Regions from separate parts of the Homo sapiens genome. Here region 1 is linked to region 2. Evidence: promoter capture Hi-C in human tissues and cell types (Jung and others, 2019). All regions are on one chromosome and are shown on one strand. The core of a region is centred on a gene start or on the middle of the fragment in contact, and the rest is flanking DNA. Distances in the headings are between cores, read along the strand shown.

Region 1 (5,732 bases), core at 2,502-5,001, 590 kb before region 2:
CACTGCACTCCAGTCTGGGCAACAGAGCCAGACCTTGTCTCAAAAGGAGCACAGGTGGAGGTAGATCTGCTAGAAACAGATGGTTTTATTTAGTCCCCATACACAAGAGATTTACCATCATTCCAAGACCTGGAAATACTATCTTTGCAGTTTTAGGCCACTCCCTACTTCACTTCAACGCTTTGGAAGTTCTGTAAAAATACTGTCTGTCCATTCCTAAAAACATCCTCTTTAACCTTAAAATCTGTTCTAGCTATTGCGCTCCTCCTCCCCTCTTTCCCTTCCTAGTCCAGCTTTTGTTGTTGTTGAGATGGAGTCTTGCTCTGTCGCCCAGGCTGGAGTGCAGTGACGCAATCTCAGCTCACTGCAACCTCCACCTCCCAGGTTCAAGCAATTCTCCTGCCTCAGCCTCCTGAGTAACTGGGATTACAGGTGTGTGCCACCATGCCTGGCTCTATTTTTAGTCGGGGTTTCACCATGTTGACCAGGCTTGTCTTGAACTCCTGACCTCAAGTGATCAACCCTCTTTGGCCTCCCAAAGTGCTGGAATTATAGGCGTGAAACACTGCACCTGGCCTAGTCAAGCTTCTAGAAAAAGCAGTTTATATTTGTGGTCTCAACATACTAATTTCTCATTCACTTATTAATCATCACAACTTGATTTCTGTCCCTATCAATCTCAGTGTCAATGCAACAGATACTATTCAACTGTTCTTCCTTTAATCTTTCTCTAGCATTTAAAAGTCAGAACCATTGTCTAAAAATAAACACAAAATAAATAAATAAAAATCCGAAGCAGAACCACCTGAAACCTGTCATTTGGGAGCTCCTTTCCTGTCTTAAGAGTAAGGATACTGAAGATCCAGCCACTGGGCCAGGGGCATCCTGTTTTAGTTCCTGGTATCCAGGCTGTGTCGGGTCCTCCTGTTCCCTTGGGTCTGCAACCAGCCTTCTTATCATGGGCAGGGTTTGGGGTGGGTGAGACGGTGAAAAGCTGCTGCTTCAGCTGCTGCTGTACATGGCAGACTGGGGGACAGGGTCATGGAGAGGGAACCAAACTCAACTCTTGGCTTCACGGATTGAACTCAGTTCTGATGCCCAATCTGACATGGAGCAGGTTTAGTCCCTTCACCCACCCCCCTGGAAGGGCCCACGGCAGTACTTTTGCTACCTCTTGGTCTGTTTCTTTCCAGTCTGTTTCACAGGACAGTTTTTTTTCTCCCTGTCCTTTCATTACTGGTGTATTCCTCCTCCGGAGTCCACACCTCCCTTTCTCTTTTTATTACACACCCATCCTTTTGCTTTCTCTTTTTTGAGAGGGAGTCTCACTCTGTTGCCCAGGCTGGAGTGCAGTGGCGCGATCTTGGTTCACTACAACCTCTGCCGCTGGGTTCAAGCAATTCTCCTGCCTCAGCCTCCCAAGTAGCTGGAATTACAGGCGCCTGCCACCGCACTCAGCTAATTTTTGTATTTTTAGTAGAGTTGGGGTTTTACCATCTTGGCCAGGCTGGCCTTGAACTCCTGACCTCGTGATCCACCCGCCTCGGCCTCCCAAAGTGCTGGGATTACAGGTGTGAGCCACTGCGCCCAGCCTGGTCTTATGCTTTCTCATAGATACAGCTTCCCCCTGGATCTTGATGACTCCCAAGTCTTTCTCTAGTGCTGACCTTTCTTACAGTCTTTAGAACTATCTACATAACTGCCTGATGCAGCTCCACCTCAGGTGCCACAGGGCCCTAAAATAAAACAACCCTCCCCCAAAGCGTGTTCTTCTGCCTCACTTGGGAATACTGCCATCCCACTCAAATCAGAAGTCTGTGAACATCAGCAGTTCCTTCCTCTCACCAAACTGTCAGTTCTAATTCCCAACTATTCTAGTATATACTTCCTTATTCCTACTGCCACTGACTGCCCTGCTTCTGGCATAGCTTCTCACCACTCTTAAGCTAGTTATCTTTTCAACTGGTTTTCCTACCCTCAAGACCCACCCCTCCCCTACACCACTAGAATTACCTTTAAAAAGTAGAAATCCTTACTGCCTTTGCAATGTGCCTCAACCACCCTGTAGATAAAACCCCATTCCCACTGCGGTCGGCGAGGCCTGGTCCCTGCTCACCCCGGTCCCTGCTCGCCCCACTGCCTTCGCCTCCAAAGCCCAATTGTTTTCCATTTCCCTTGAGCACCACGTGGTTTCGCGTGCCGTTGAACGTGCTGTTTGCACCTGGACTGCCTTCCCACGGACAGGACAAATTTCTTCCCAACTTTCAAGATGCAGGCTTAGGGAAACCTGTTCTGTGAAGTCTTTCCTGACTCCCTCTTCTCACAGGTGATCTGGACGGATCCTTCCCCTGGTGAGCAACTGCACTCAGAACACACACTAGGCTTGCTTATGTGTGTGTACACTAGGAGGTGGTAAGCTTCCCGGTCTAAGGCTTCCTTATCACTGTCATTCAATATAGTGCCAGCACAAAGGACGTTCCCAATAAATTATTGTGGAATAAACACACACATTTTTATGAAAAAACTAAAATCAACTCAATACAATATGACATTCTGAGCTTACAAAAACAAAGCTGGGGCTTATCAGCTGTAACAGTCTATGAGGGCAGTGTACTACTTGCACAGCATCCCCAGACTTCCTGGGAGAAGCAGTGAAGGAAACTTTGGGACTGATGGTAGGACCCTGGCACAAGAATGTTAATCTGATTTTTATGTCTTGGAAGTCAGGAAAGGTTGCCTAAGAAAAACAAACTCAGTCCAAAGTAGGAATGACCAGAAAGACTCATACCCAACCTTGGGGTATTAATCCAGCTTGCTCAACTAATTTATGCCCTCCAGCCTGGCCCCAGAATAATCTGTCAATTCTTTAACAGAAAAGGCTTGAGAAAGTAAGACTGCCTTCTAAAAGCCTAAAACAACTGCAAATCACTTACAGGTAGAGGCAGGGATGGTAGGGAATTCACCGAGGGTTACAAGAACAGCAGAGGCAGCTACTGAAACAGCAGATTCAACTCAACCAGCTTTACTGAATGCTTACTAAGTACATGGCACTGTGCTCAGCAAGTTTTCAGAGCAAGGGCCTATGTCCAGGTTTTATTGCAATTGTTGGTCACATAAGAATTAAGCAGATTAGAGGTAATAAATATGTTAACTGGGTTGACTTAATCATTCCATATTATATTCATAAATCACAATATCACTTTGTACCCCATAAGTATATGCAATTATAATTTGGCAATTTACATTAAAAATTAAAATTAAAAGAAATAATTAAGCAGATTAACATGTTAACTTTTGTGACCAATTTATTGGTGATTAAAGAAAAACCTTTGTTCTTTTTCTATATTGCATATTGATTTTATGAGGTGAGATTGTTCACAAATTTTAGATGTATACTGCTTCTCCAATTAACCAGTGAGTTGAACATTGATAATGATGATAGTAATATGAATAATCATTAACAATTGTTTATGCTGTGCCCCGCACTGTGTACCTTGGAAGTCTAAAAATCTCTCATTTCAGATCTGATCCCCTTTTTCAGGGGCCTTACACTAAATATAAGGAGAAAAAAGCTAAGCGCTAAGCTGAGTGGCACAGAAGTTTAGAGAACGTAGAGAAAACGGTGAGCTAGATAACCTGTGCCGCCTTCAGAGAGAAACTGGGATTCCAGCTGGAACTGACAGGATTTGAAGCAGGTGATTCTCAAACCCTTTTGTCTCAGGATCCCTTTACACTTACGAAAATTATGGAGGACCTCAAAGAGCTCTTGTTTATCTTAATTTTAATTATCAATATTTGCCATACTAAAAATTATAACTATGAAACATCAGAAGTATTAGTTCATTTATTCGGCCAACAAACTTAAAAAAGCTCACTATCACTGATCATTAGAGAAATGAAAAACCACAATGAGATGCCATCTCATGCAAGTCAGAACGGTGATTTTATATTAAAAAGTCAAGAAACAACAGATGCTGGCAAGGCTGCAGAGAGATAAGAACGCTTTTACGCTGTTGGTGGGAATGTAAATGAGTTCAACCATTGTGGAAGACAGTGTGGTGATTCCTCAATGACCTAGAACCAGAAATACCATTTGACCCAGCAATCCCATTACTGGGTATATACCCAAAGGAATATAAATCATTCTATTATAAAGATACATACACGCGTATGTTCACTGCAGCACTATTCACAACAGCAAAGACATGGAATCAACCCAAAGGCCCATCAATGATAGACTGGATAAAGAAAATGTGGTACATATACATCATGGAATACTATGCAGCCATAAAGAGGAATGAGATCATGTGCTTCGCAGGAACACGGATGCAGCTGGAAGCCATTATCCTCAGCAAACTAATGCAGGAACAGAAAATCAAACACTGCATATTCTCACTCATAATTAGGAGCTGAACAATGAGAACACATGGACACAGGGAGGGGAGCAACACACACTGGGCCTGTTGGCTGGGGGTGGGTGGCGGGGGGAGGGAGACATCAGGAAAAATAGCTAATGTATGCTGGGCTTAATATTTAGGTGATGGGTTCACAGTGCAGCAAACCACCATGGCACATGTTTACCTATGTAACAAACCTGCACATCCTGCACATGTACCCTGAAACTTAGAAATAATAAACTATTGCTTTTTAAATTAAAAATGGTATTTCAAAGGATTAAAAATTTGAGGACAGTGGCACTGTTTTACATCTTTGCAAATTTCTTTAATGTCTAGCTTGAGCAACAACAGCTGCACCCAAATATATACTTTTGCATTCAATCTTTTGCAGTATCACATGTCTGGAAAAACTCCAATGTGCACTCATGGGAGAATGAATTTAAAAGGCATACAGCATCTTAGTATTATTAAAATAGTTGTGACCTTCTGAAAGGGTCTTGGATGGGAGGAAGGAGCACACTTTGACAAGTGTTCATTGAAAAAGATAAAGAAAATGGTCTAAGCAAGCAAGAGCTGGGCAAGAAGGAAATGTGTGGCTCCTAAGCCCTAACTTCCAAGAACACAAACCCCTACTCTTAACAGCTCACCTATAACCAAGCTAACCTCCGTGGTGAATCTCAGAGACAGAGATGGCCAGGGCAAGGCAGGGTTCTGCCGGGCTGTGCAGGGTGGTGCTGACAGCAGTGCCACCAGGGAGGCTCTACTGCCCTGGGCAACATTCTCTAGAGGCCACGTCAGGTTTTCCTCTCCAGAGCCTCCACTGTGCTCTCCTGCTAGAAGAGAAGCTGTAAATGGCTTACCAGAACTGCCTTGCCATGGCTTCCCAGGGCTGTGTTTACTAACTGCAAAATCATCTCCCTGCTGCAGTCTCAAAGTCTTCAGACATTTCTTGATCTGGCTGTCTTAAAAAGCAAATTTAACATCAGCCACGTAGCCAGGTTTTCCTTGCCAACAATCATGTGAGTTTGCTATTCTGTTCCTGTGCATCTTGCGCACTGTAAAAACAGTTCCTGGAGCATCATATGTCATGGATCTAGTTGCCATAAACTGAAAACATTTTCTTCATATTTTGTGGCACAAACTAAAAGCATTCTGGATGCGGTTTGCATACAGTCCATCTCTGGCCAAAAAAGAGGTTTAAATTTATGGATAAACAGAGAAAGGGGGGTAGCCACTGCCTTAGTTAAAGCCATTTTATTATCAAAGTCAATGTTGGATAGTGTGTATTTTTTAATTTAATTTTTTCCTGTGATTAATGTTCTGAAATTATCCTGC
Region 2 (5,834 bases), core at 2,875-5,374:
CTTCTGGGTGTGGGAGGACTTAGCTGCAGGGGCCTGGGAAGGGCACAGCCCCAGCATCCTGGCTCCACACCACTGGCCTGCACTGCCCTTCTTGGTGCCTCAGTTTCTCGTCTGCCAAATGAGGGCCGACCCCCACTGGCACTGGATGACTCTGATGCTCCTGGCCACACCCTAACACCTATTTAGTACCTGGATGTGGATGGAGGCCCATGGCCTTTGGAGAATTCTAGAATCTCAACAGGAAAGACCTCAAAGAGCACCAGGTCCAAGACCCATGTGTGATGCCCACTCCCAGTGGTGCCTCGGGCCACTTCTCCACAACCAGCTGCATGCATTCCATCAACAGTTGGCTCTCAGGTGACAGTCTATGCTGGGCACCAGAAAGGTCACGTGGGCCCCACCATGCAGGTCGTTACGGGCCATTTGTTTCCAGCTCAAGAGGCAAAATGAAGAGCCCAGACTGGAGCCGTCCTGGGTTCAAATCCCAGCTCTACCTCTTTGCTCAAAATCCTCCTAGGTGAGCTGGGCGTGGTGGCGGGCGTCTGTAATCCCAGCTACTCAGGAGGCGGAGGCAGGAGAATCGTTGGAATCCGGGAGGTGGAGGTTGTGGTGACCCGAGAATGCACCATTGCACTCTAGCCTGGACAACGGAGAGACCCTGTCTCAAAAAAAAAAAAAAAAAAAAAAAAAAAGGCCGGGCGCGGTGGCGGTGGCTCACGCCTGTAATCCCAGCACTTTGGGAGGCCGAGGCGGGCGGATCACGAAGTCAGGAGATGGAGATCAAGACCATCCTGGCTAACACGGTGAAACCCCCTCTCTACTAAAAATACAAAAATAATTAGCTGGGCGTGGTGGCAGGCGCCTGTAGTCCCAGCTACCCGGCAGGCTGAGGCAGGAGAATGGCGTGAACCCGGGAAGCGGAGCTTGCAGTGAGCCGCGATCGCGCCACTGCACTCCAGCCTGGGCGACAGAGCCAGACTCCATCTCAAAAAAAAAAAATTCCTCCTGGGTGTGGCGTCTGCCTCACGGGTGTGCTGCGGGGACTGGGTGAAAGAACACATGTGCTGTGCTCAGTTACAGCAGTGCCTGGGCTGCACTCACTCTCACTCTCCTCCCAGCCATTCCCCAGGCACACCCGGTCTACACCACCTTCCACAGACGGAAAACGAGGCTAATCCCGAAGGACACAAGAGGAAGGGCAGACCTACCCGGGCTGCGCTGATCTTTGCATTCAAGCATTCATCCGCAACACAGGACAAAAGACATCGCCTGCCTGGAAAGGCGAAGTCGCCCCGCCAGAAGTCCGAAGCTGCAGTGAGGTGTGGCTTCTAAGCACTGATCCATCCTAACATGTCCCGAGGCCGTCAGGCCTCCTAGTTTAGATAGCAGCAGGCACAACAGCCTTCACAGGAACTGTTGCCTGCCTTTGTGCCCAGCTCTAGCCAGAACCTGCGCAGGCTGTCATCCTTCCACCCCGTAAGGAGAAACGGAGGCCAACCCTCAGCTCCTGTCCTGTTTCAGCATCAATTCCCAAAAGGAGCCATTTCTTTCTTCAGGATGAGGCTTCTGCAGAACTGTTCAGGTAACAAGTGAAACCTAATCTTGTGTGCTATCTCAAAGACCGTGCAACCTTATTCAGGGTTTTATGCGACAGCTGTTGGCATGAAGCCCTCTTGAATAAACAGGTGGAGGCCCAGGCTGTCCCTCCCTCTGAATCTCCCAGAGATCTCCAGCCTCCTCCCCCTACACAACCAGCACTCAGCTCTGGGCAAAGGACCCAGCTTACTATAAATGGCCAACTATACGGCTCCAGGGCCCCATGAATCAGCCATCGTGGCCTACACCGAGCAGGGATGAGCAAATCCCACTCTGGGAACCGATCTTCAGCCTTGGACTGCCTCCTCCCCCAGATCTCACAGGAAATGTTAAGACCAGCTTGGGGTGGGTGGGTGGCGCTTCACTCGGTTACTTTGCCAGGAAAGGAATTCAAACGCACAAGTACTTTCCCTACAAAATAATTTATTGGAACACACAGCTACAGCACTCTATGTACAAGCACATTGACGCTCCTGACTATCCTCAACTAGGGGACCCTTTTCTTCCCCCTTGCCTTGCGGACCTCTTCTATCAAATCTTTCAGGTACTGGATCTCCTTGGCCAGGGAATCCGCCCTCTCTTTTAGAGCCTCGTTCTTCTTTTCCAGCTCTTTGCACTCACCAGTAAGAGCCTCCTGCTCCGCCCTCTTCTTCTGGCGGTACCTAGTGGCTGCTGTCTTGTTTTGCTCCATTTTTTTCAGCTTCTTATCCAGTTTCTCACCCTTTACTTTTGCTGCTACCATCTTCTCTCCAGGAGGATCGTAAGGTTTGGGACGGGCAGACCCACAGAGAACACCTGGAGATGGGAGGCTCCTATTTGGAGAGCCCCTGGTAGAGGGGCTGTGCTGAGGAGACCCCAGATAGGACTCTGGGCTCATACAGATGCCACTATCATTATCTGAAGGGGTGTCTTCCTCCTTTATGCACTGAGGGATCATGGCAACGTAAGCAGTGTAGTCTGGCTTCCTATCTCCTTCAGTGATATCCACTTCACTGCCCAGCTCTAAACTAAAGGAATGATCTGGAGTGGAGGACAGGACCCCTGGGGAAAGGGGAAGAGGTTGTAAGAAGGTGAAGGGGGCAACCTGGTCGGGTTTTGTTAAACTTTCTGGGAGATGGCCAATTGGGTTCACCGTCTGGGGGGGCTGCTTATTAGTCTCCTGGACTAGGGGGGCAAAGAGATCACAAGTGTCATCCAACGTGGTCAGAAGGTCATCTGGCATGGTTTCCAGGTCATCTATACCCAACAGGGCATCCAAGTCGAACTCCTTCAAATCCATTTTCTCCAACATCCAATCTGTCCCGGAGAAGGCATCCTCTGCAAAACATTTGAGTGATGGGGCCAAGTGAGTCAGATACAAAGGTAGGAGGCCCCTAACCCTAGATCCCACCAGGACGATGTGGTGGTGGCCCACTCACCCTTGCTGTTGTTGGAGGGACTGACCAACCCATCCACAGCCAGCCATTCGGAGGAGCCCGCCTTAGCCTTGTCGCTGGAGAACCCATGAGGTTTGAAGTGCTTGGCCACCTCCAGGTAATCATCTAAGAGACCTAGGCTTTCTTCAGCCCCCAAACCCGACTGGTCGAAGGGGGACATCAAGTCCCCCACCAACACCTCGCTGCTCAGGAAGCTCATTTCGGTCATGTTGCGGTGCTTTGCTGGAATCGAGGAATGTGCTTAATTCGAAGGTGTCTTTGTCGGTTACAGCAACGCTGCTGCTGAATGCCGTGAGAAGCCTGAATGAGAATCAGAAGCCAACTCCCATTAGAGGTTAGCTGTTCTGAGAATTTCATCCTTCCACTTATGAGGCGGGACTTCTCTAGATCGGCCATCTAGAGAATCGGGAACAGGGCAGTTGTATTTGCCCCTCCCTGCTTGCAACTCAGGTTCCACAAAATGGACGCTCACGGAGACCAGGGGATTCTTCCACCGGCCGCCAAGAGGAAAGCGCTCCGTCCCCACGTCCAAATACGGCCAGGGCGGCCGCGCCCCGCCCACCGCCCGCCCTTGACTCACGCCCGCGCCGCCGCCCTGCCGCCGCCATCTTGGTTCCTGCCACGTTTCGTGGGGCAACAGCCAAGACCCCTGGGACCCTTGCGGGGCTCGGGGTCCGAGGGCTGTAGGGCTCCTGGGGAAGCAGTCCGGGCACCCGACTACGCTTTCCCGATCCCAGGCACGCGAGCGTCTCGGGGACACCCAAGCAAAGACCACGCGTCCCGGGCGCTCGTTAAATCGCTTCCCCCTTGGCGGCACCGCCCTGGCCCCAGGCCGCACCCCACCAATCCAAAACCCGCGCCGGCCCCAGGAGCACAGCTGGACGACCCGCCCCGGTACTCACGCCATGGCTTAAGCCGCTGGGGGTTGCCGCTGCAGAGCCTGGTGCTGCTGCCGCCGCTGCAAAGGCCAATGCTGCCGCAGGCACTGCTGCCCCTAATACGCCATGGTGGCCGTGGACCCTGAGGGCGGGGAGGAGGGAAAACGCACACGCGCAGAGAAAACTACATCTGTGGGCGGGCAAAGTAGAAATGGCTGCCGTGGCCGCCCGCCGGCCCTTTATAGACTTCGTCTCTATGGGGACGCAGCACAGACGCATCCTTCCGCCGCGACCACGTGACCGTCTCCTCCCGCCCGCTCCCTTCCCTCCCTCCCTTTGACGCCCCAACCGTTTATGCCCAGGGCGTAGCTGTGACGAGAAAAGGAGTTTGTTCTTATGGCCTCACGAAAGGAGAGAGGTGTACTACTTTACTAGGCTTCTATGATCAGAGTCCGTTCTTTCCTTCGCCGCCGGAGCGCGGAGTGATCTCCCAGACACGCCTCGCTTCCGGTGTCAGCGCAGTGGGCGGGGAAAGGTCGTTTTCCGGCGAAGAGTTTTTATTGTGAAGGCCGAGGACGCCAGGTTATCGCGCGAGGTGCTGGCGAAGAGCGCGCGTCAAGGTGATTGGCCCAGGCCCGGTGAATCATATATATCTCGAGCTCTTATTGGCTCAGGGCCCTAGATGGGCGGCTGCTGGGAGAGGGATCCCGGGGTCCGCGTGGGAAGGGTTGGGGTCTCGGGTCGCTGCTAGTCCTCAGCCAGCCCCGCCTGCTGGCCCGCCACGATCGCGCTGGCTCCTGCCCCCAGGCGGCCTTAGCCCAGCGCACCCCTTAGTGGCCTCAGGGACCAGCCCTTGCGGTCGGATCCCGCCGCCCTCAGTGGAGGTCCGCACTGGTGGCCCCGCCGCCGCTCCCAGCCTGCGCGTCCTTCGGTTGCGGGTGGTGATTTGTGGCCTGCGGAAACCGGGGGGTTACCTGTTCCAAGCCTGAGTTTTCCAGAGGCCCCATTCATAGCCGACACGGCGCTGCTGCCCCCGGGAGGTTGAAGGGGCCTCGAGAGGGCGCGCCGGGCCTGTCCACCTACCCCCAAAGGCCGGCTGAGTCTGCATGGCTCCTCCTAAACTCTGGAAAGGAGCCGGGAAGACGCGCCGTCCTGTCGCCCAACCTGGGTTTTTACAATTTTCATCCGGCTCAAGTGCAAGGCTGCCACAGAATAGCATCATAGAGGAACTTCTGGTGTCCGAAGATTGCGTTCTCCTAAGAACAAGATTTTCTTCGCTGCCGTCTCCCTGGGGTAGTTCGGATTCACTCCGGATTCTGAACTCCCCGGCCTAACCCGCTTTTCAGCAGTCACGCCCATGGCCCAGGGAGGAGAGGCGCTTGGGAACCCACGGCCACTTACTGGGGGTTGTGCGTTGGGAAGGGGTAGTCTGTTTTAAGAATACAAGAAACCTCCCCATCATCCTTCAGCCCCTTCCAGTCAGGCCCTGTGAAGGTGGAAACTTTGAGTTTCCGCCTCCATTTCACTGGGCCACACAAGTATGAGCGCTGTGATATCAAACAACCAGGGAAGCACTGCTCTAAATAACCACAGGCCATCTGCTGCGCTCATTCAACCTCGCCCACAAATCCTTTCCAATGGTAAACCGAGGCCCAATGGGATGAAGCTTCTTGCTCAAAGTCACAAGGCTCCCAGTGGAGGGAGTATGGGGTAGGAGTTAGAAGACAGATTTTGGGGAGCGCATCCAAAAGAATCCTGGCTGGGACATTTTGGCTAAATGACTTATACTCTCTGAGCCTCAGTTTCCTCATTTGTAAAATGAGACTACTGATGAGTATCCTTGCCTCATGAAGTGAGATCATACATGTAAAGCACTTAGCACAGTGCCTGCCTGGTACATGTAAGCGCCCAATAATGGTTGCTG

What was found. The method cuts DNA at HindIII sites, captures the fragments that hold promoters and counts their contacts. A contact is called where the count stands out against the background at its distance.
Region 1: a fragment that was not itself captured here is called in contact with the fragment with the promoter of ATF4 in region 2 in 1 of the 25 tissues and cell types used here (dorsolateral prefrontal cortex).

Annotation. Positions count from the first base shown.
Region 1 is chr22:40,107,682-40,113,413 of GRCh38, reverse strand. It overlaps a transcript of TNRC6B not described here. Among named protein-coding and RNA genes, the nearest start is that of TNRC6B-DT, 66 kb to the right of the region's middle. The HindIII fragment of the contact is 4,499 bases long and covers 1,502-5,732 here.
Region 2 is chr22:39,518,852-39,524,685 of GRCh38, reverse strand. It overlaps ATF4 (activating transcription factor 4), which reads right to left and starts at 4,124. Exons shown (of 3, transcript NM_182810.3): 1 at 3,935-4,124; 2 at 3,015-3,332; 3 at 2,003-2,913. The coding sequence starts at 3,240. The coding sequence ends at 2,084. RefSeq lists enhancers at 66-115, 216-265, 1,139-1,640, 3,647-3,696, 4,057-4,206 and 1 more and a silencer at 4,587-4,786. The HindIII fragment of the contact is 4,198 bases long and covers 2,743-5,834 here.